Regions from separate parts of the Homo sapiens genome. Here region 2 is linked to region 1. The links are contacts of gene promoters, found by promoter capture Hi-C in blood cells and fetal thymus (Javierre and others, 2016). All regions are on one chromosome and are shown on one strand. Each heading gives the region's core, a stretch centred on a gene start or on the middle of the fragment in contact. The rest is flanking DNA. Distances are from core to core; before and after follow the strand shown.

Region 1 (3,372 bases), core at 302-2,801:
CTCTAGGTTCCAGTCAAATGGAAATATGTGGCTTTTCTCACTCCATTCTGTCTCTCTTTTCCATTTGCTTACCCCCTTCGCTTCCTCTTTCATTCTATTTCCTTCTGCTTTCATGAACTTTCTCTTTCACACATATTCACTGATGCATTCCCACTCACCTGTTCTCTCTTACTCTGTCACCCCCCAGTACTTACTGAATGCCAGCCATGGGCTAAAGACCATAGTAAGTGGACGCTGGGCAGGAAGAGAAAGGCCATTGTGGCTGGAGGATAGTGATGTGGTACCACGAAACGTCAGAGAGGGCAGTGGGGCCCAGATCACCAGGGCACTGAGGGCCTGGTACCCAGTGGGAAGTGACCAGAAGGTGGGGCACAAAATAGAATCAGATATCCTGCTGCTCTGAGAAGAATGAAGGGGTTGTGGGCAAAAGTGAAAGCTGGAAGATCCCTTAGACAGTCTCTATAGTCACCTTAGGGTTAATTTTGGAGGTGGGGCAGACAGGACTTGTCTATGGATTTGATGTGGGAAATGAGACCAAAAAAGGAATCAGAGACCCAAGTTTCAGGCTTGAGCAACTCTGTTCTCCCTAGTTCATTGCCATCCTTTTTTTTCCTTTCTCCTTCCCTCCTCTTCCTTGTTCACGCTATAGCAGAATGTGACATACTCCTTACCAGCCCCAAGTTCATTCCTCTTCAAGTGTCAGTTTAGAAGTCACAGACTCCAGGAAACTTTCCTGAAGTCCCCACACTGGGGCAAAGCCACACACGTACTGTCATCTCCCTCCCGGCATCAGTGTGCACATTATTACTTTATTCACAGGAGTTCCAAGCAGGAGTTTCTACAGCCCAAATGCAGCAAGTCTGTGTCTAAGCTCAGTTAGCTAAGTGAAATTTGGAAAGTTACTTAAGGAAGTCTCAGTCCCCACATCTGTAAAGTGCAGATAAGAAAATGGTCTACCTCACACAAAGTTTTGCATGAGATGATATACATAAAATGCTTAGCACAAAACTGGCAGAGAGCAAATGCTAGATAAATGATAGTCGTTATTATTATCGCTGTTGTTACTGGTTTACATTATCCACCTTCATCTAAGCAGGGTTTCTGCAGAATAGCAGAAACCAAACTAATGTAGCAAATAAGCTACATAATTCAAGCCCAGGAAAAAGTTAACATTTCAGTGGCATGCATTCAAGACGAATAGTTTGATTTATTAGCCAATTCAGATAAATGTGCACGTGGAAGTCATAGTTAAATATTATCGTCAGTTTCCACGTCCTGCGTTTAATTTGGGGTTTGATTTTCCAAATACAACACTTACCAGATTAGGTGGACCCACAGGATTATTTTTCCTTGAGGTCTCACCTGAGCAGGTGCATGTACAGCAGACGGAGCAGAAAGAGACTGATTAGAGAGGTTGGAGTGGTAGAGGGCGTGACCCTCTTAATCATTCTTCACTTCCTTTTTTAAAAGACGACTTGGCATCGTCCACCACATCCGCGGCAACGCCTCCTTGGTGTCGTCCGCTTCCAATAACCCAGCTTGCGTCCTGCACACTTGTGGCTTCCGTGCACACATTAACAACTCATGGTTCTAGCTCCCAGTCGCCAAGCGTTGCCAAGGCGTTGAGAGATCATCTGGGAAGTCTTTTACCCAGAATTGCTTTGATTCAGGCCAGCTGGTTTTTCCTGCGGTGATTCGGAAATTCGCGAATTCCTCTGGTCCTCATCCAGGTGCGCGGGAAGCAGGTGCCCAGGAGAGAGGGGATAATGAAGATTCCATGCTGATGATCCCAAAGATTGAACCTGCAGACCAAGCGCAAAGTAGAAACTGAAAGTACACTGCTGGCGGATCCTACGGAAGTTATGGAAAAGGCAAAGCGCAGAGCCACGCCGTAGTGTGTGCCGCCCCCCTTGGGATGGATGAAACTGCAGTCGCGGCGTGGGTAAGAGGAACCAGCTGCAGAGATCACCCTGCCCAACACAGACTCGGCAACTCCGCGGAAGACCAGGGTCCTGGGAGTGACTATGGGCGGTGAGAGCTTGCTCCTGCTCCAGTTGCGGTCATCATGACTACGCCCGCCTCCCGCAGACCATGTTCCATGGTAAGCGCTCTTCTCCCTTGCGCACAAGTTCGCGCGCCCGACGCGCCGGGGCAATCCCAGACGCGCTGGGGGCCCCTGCTCCTAGGCAAGTCCGGGAATAGCCCGGCCTTGCACTTTGGACCTGCGGAGAGCACTGGCTCTCCCATGGGCAGCCAACAGCCGCGCCTGAGTATCCTGGCACATAGCCACTTGAACCTGGGGCGGCTGCTGCCCCTGGCAGGCTGCGAGTAACAGTCCCCAACGCCTGCTTTCTGTCCTGAGAGGGAACGCTGCAGCCTCCGCGCCGCTCAGCGGTGGCAGCCCACAGCCGGTCTCAGAAGCAGCCAAAGGCTCTCTGTCTGGCGCCCTTCCCGTGCTCCTGGCCGCCCCAAGTTACTCACGCAGGCGGCCCGGGTTCGGCGAGTAGCTGGGCTCTTGCAGCTCAGAACTCCCTAGAGAAGTGAAAGCGAAGCTCCCACGGGACGCGCTTTTAAACCCTAGGGGAACAGGTCTCCGGAAAACCCCATTTTTCCCCCCTGAGTAAGACTGGGAGTTTCCGGCAAGGGCTGTACCTTGCGCCTATTGCTGGGAAACCAGTCCTGGGGCTGGCGCTGAGGAAGGCCAGCTTCTGGGTTTTTTTGTTTTTGTTTTTGTTTTTGTTGTTATTTTTTCCTACGGGCGCTTCTTGATGGAGGCAGAATGAAATAGGCGTGACTCTAACTTCCAGACCAGTATTGAGACCTAATATATCTTATTTGTGCAGAATACGGATTTAGAATGGACAGGGACAGAATTCAGGAGGGTTGGATTCGGATGGCAGTCATATATGACCAATGAAAGAGCCAAAAAACTTACTGGAATTAAAAAAGAGGAAAAAGGATTGTGAGGGGAAAAGATCTGCTTAGGAAAATTGGAATGCTTTACAGTAAGTACTTCCTCAAGCAAGAAGACAGCTGGGGGGAGGGTGCGGGAATAGGAAACTGACTGCTCTTTCTTTTGATGGCTACTCCGTTAGATCAAGACTTCTTTCCACTCTCGTGGGTAAAGAATCAAGAATTGACACAACCAAGGAGTGCCAGCTCAGTAACAAAACAAAGATAGAGAGAGCGGAAAGAATAGCCAACGTAATTATGGAGGACTTCTAAGGAATGTCCTCCCGGAGCTTAATACAAAACTAAAAATTGAGCACAACCCTATTTTCCTTGCAATGCCCATAGTTCTGCAGTTTCTTCTTCTGGATCACCCTTGGTTCTAATCCTTGCAACACCTCTGCTCTAAAGTAGAAAGGTAAA
Region 2 (3,372 bases), core at 330-2,829, 100 kb before region 1:
TACTTTCCTTCTCATCTCTTAGAACGGGAACAAAACTCTGTAGTTTACATCCCAATATCTTGTGTTTTCTAGTAAAATAGAGCTTTTAAACTTTTATATACGGTTATCTTTCTTTGTAGGAACCAGACAATCATCTCGGCATAAGCAAGTGACAGCCAAAACTGTTCTCAGTTTCATTAGTTCTGCCCATCTGAAATTTGGTTACCTGCGCAGGCTTGGTTGGGATAGCTTCTCTCCCAAGGATCTTTTGCTCCTCATGTGAATATACTTCTGATGAAAATATCCCATCATTTCTGATTTTGACCATGAATACAAGGGAGGCACAAATTGGGGACTCCCAGAAATACTTGGGAGGAAATTTGGGGAGGCTAAGAAGTAGTTGTCTGAAATAAAGTCATACGCCAATTGTCAGTGAAACACAAAATACATTTTGGAACATCCAAGTAGGATTACAGTGGGAAGATGTAGGTACAACTTTGTAAATATAATTGCACAATCAAAATGAGTACTAATCCAGGCTCAAAAATCTCATTAGGGTACCAATAAACTCTTACGTCTAAGGTGCCTATGGCAATGTCTATTCTAGTTTTGATTCAAGTCTTCAACTTTCTATCTTCCTCTTTTTACCTTTTATCCTCCTCCCCCTCCCTTTTCCTCTCTCTCTCACATTTGTGTAATATTTAAAAGTATGATTCAGACAGAGTTAAATTTTGATTTCTTACCACATTACTAATCGAATTGTGGTCTGCCAGTGCATGAACTGCTTATTTCTGGCCAACAATAAGAAAAGCACAGAAATAGATATTAACCATTTAGAAACTTGTATTGCCATTGAAGATTACCACAACATTTAATTTTAAGCTTGATGAATCTAGTTATAAAAACTAGAGCTTATTTTTTCTCTTAACTCGGTTTTTCTAACATTTTTTATTAATGTAATGAAGGGATCCATCTGTGACAGATCAGAAATTAAAAAAAAAGAAAGAACCACCACAGGTGATTAGACCTGCCTGAACCTTTTGTAACATTCTTTTAGCAGAAAATGAATGTGTCATATGCATATTGGCTTTTCCGGAATCCATGAGGTGAATGAATTTTCAGGCTTGGATGAGTGTTAGAAACTAAAATAAACTAAATGACCAGAATCACCACCAAAATCAGCCCTCATAATAGTCTGGCACTAATGTTGTTGCTGCCACCGCTATCACAATATAACCAGACCTTGGACCTCAGGGGGTCTGTTGCTGTCACTCACTGTCCCTGAAATAGCATCTTCCCTCTCCCCAGTCCTTTGCATTGCTCACCCTACATTCAAACTACGGGGTTAGAATATCTCATTGGCCACACCAACATCCTTCCAAGTGCCTTCTGAAAATGGCTGTTGGGTCTATGAATACCGGCTGCCACTAACATCTATCCCATCTGTGGTAGTTCACTTTTTCCCAAGAGCCAGCCTCCGTTTACAGGCAATGGAGTAGAAGAAGCTGCTTAGGTAGTCACTGAAGATATTGAAGGAATTTAAATGAGAATTTGACATCCAACATCAAGGAAGCATTCCTAAAGTGTGAGCCACCTACTGTTTTGTGGTAAATGAAACCACTCATATATAATTGCCTGTAGCTCAGGAGTATCTGGGCCCCTGCTGACCATGTTTAATGAAGGACATAAAGCCTTACAATTCCCAGATGCATGAACTCGAATCAATATTGTTCCTTATTGAGTTCTCATTTCCTAAAAAAAAGAGGGGCCATCTTATCTTCAAGACAGTGTTTCCCAGAATCCATAAGAAAGAAATATCAAATCTTCACGGCAGTCGATGAAACACACATAAGATTCTTCAGATTACCCACATGAAATGCTAGCATAGCCTCTCCTTGATATCTTGTTTTCCTTTATAAAACATATATTAATACAGTAATTTCATGTTTTCTCAGAAGAGAGACACAAAATTATGTATCTAATAAGAAGCTGCTATTAAGGAATAAGGCAGAAGAAGCCTATAATAGTTGGAATAAAACACACACAGTAATGTTTCATAGGAGACCTAAAGTACTCATAACTTTTTTGTGTGATAGAAAAAACAATGTTTTGTTGGTGGGAGGTGGGAAGGAAAATAGAATAGGCTTGGGGAGAGCTTGTTGTTTTCTTTACTGCAGAACTGAGTAGGAAATAGTTCCAATGACTTAGCATGTGACAGGCTCTTAGTTATTATTCAAATTAAAGTGAGTTTCTGGAGCATGTCATGTCTGTAAGCCTGACATTTTTAGAAATGACAGTGTGTCTGAGAAAAAGCTTTTAGCATATTCTCAGCGGTAGCTAAATATGAAATGCCAGACTTCTCCCTGCTCTGCTGAATGAATTTTTATGGAGAACTGATGAATGATTACATTATCTTGAGGGTGAAGGAGAATTTAGGATGTCCTTAGTGTATTTTGCTTTAGTCTCCCCTTTGTCCCTATTCTGCAAAGAAGTCAAGTTTAAAACTCACAGAAATGCACAACAATTGTGGTATTATATAAAATTACAATGTCACAAAGTGCTAAAATAATAATAATTCCACTGATGTAGAGAGGGGGAAATAACATTTAGGCAAAAGTAGGTCTAATACATAATATCTTAAGTACAATGTGAAAAACATGGTATGATCTGTAAAAAAAAAATACGTCACTTACCAATATTACAGTTCCAAGTTTCACATTCATGCTCAAATGAAAACTTCTCAAGTGCTGTCCCGTTACAGAAGAACACAAAACATTATTAAAATTCTATGCCTTGGAGCCGGGCACAGTGACTCATGCCTATAATCTTAGCACTTTGGGAGGCCAAGGTGTGAGAATTGCTTGAGGCCAGGAGTTCGAGGCCAGCCTGGCCAACCTAGCATAACCCCATCTCTAAAAAATAAAAATAAATAATTTTTTAAAACCCTGTAACTAGGACTCAAAGCACCAAATTCTACCTGTGTGCTGTCAAGTAAGGGAAAGTCACTCCTTTGACAGACTCCAAGAGTCCTTACCAAAAAACCTAATCTGACTCAGCACTATTGAGATAATCATAGTGGTGTTTTCACCAGGTTGGGCTAGTCTTACAAGTGTAAAAAAGTAAATTATAGCATTCCCAAGTAGGAAGGCACCATACACATCAATCTTTCCAAGTTTAAATGGCCATATTGATGGCATTGGGTAGAAGAGATTATCTGCTTACCAACCTGCTTTCCTGGAAGTTTACAGAAACAACTACCTTTTGCTCTGAATTAACAGAAGTTTTTATTTTATTTTAGGACTATTTCATAAGTACTTTCAGAGTCATTATTCAGAGATCTGCCTAAAAGCCCCCTCTTTCTACAGATGTGAAATAAGGAAAAATGCAGATAGG

The links. The method cuts DNA at HindIII sites, captures the fragments that hold promoters and counts their contacts. A CHiCAGO score of 5 or more calls a contact.
Region 2: a fragment that was not itself captured here is called in contact with the fragment with the promoter of IL7 in region 1 in 1 of 17 cell types (total B cells); the score reaches 6.0 in total B cells.

Annotation. Positions count from the first base shown.
Region 1 is chr8:78,803,642-78,807,013 of GRCh38, reverse strand. It overlaps IL7 (interleukin 7), which reads left to right and starts at 1,551. Exons shown (of 6, transcript NM_000880.4): 1 at 1,551-2,101. The coding sequence starts at 2,092. It overlaps MITA1 (metabolism induced tumor activator 1), which reads right to left and starts at 2,542. Exons shown (of 3, transcript XR_002956715.2): 1 at 1,319-2,542. The HindIII fragment of the contact is 3,968 bases long and covers 1-3,372 here.
Region 2 is chr8:78,906,019-78,909,390 of GRCh38, reverse strand. The region is part of intron 1 of MITA1 (metabolism induced tumor activator 1); the gene reads right to left. The region is part of intron 2 of LOC105375912 (a long non-coding RNA gene); the gene reads left to right. Among named protein-coding and RNA genes, the nearest start is that of LINC02605, 70 kb to the right of the region's middle. RefSeq lists an enhancer at 1,344-1,845. The HindIII fragment of the contact is 1,431 bases long and covers 864-2,294 here.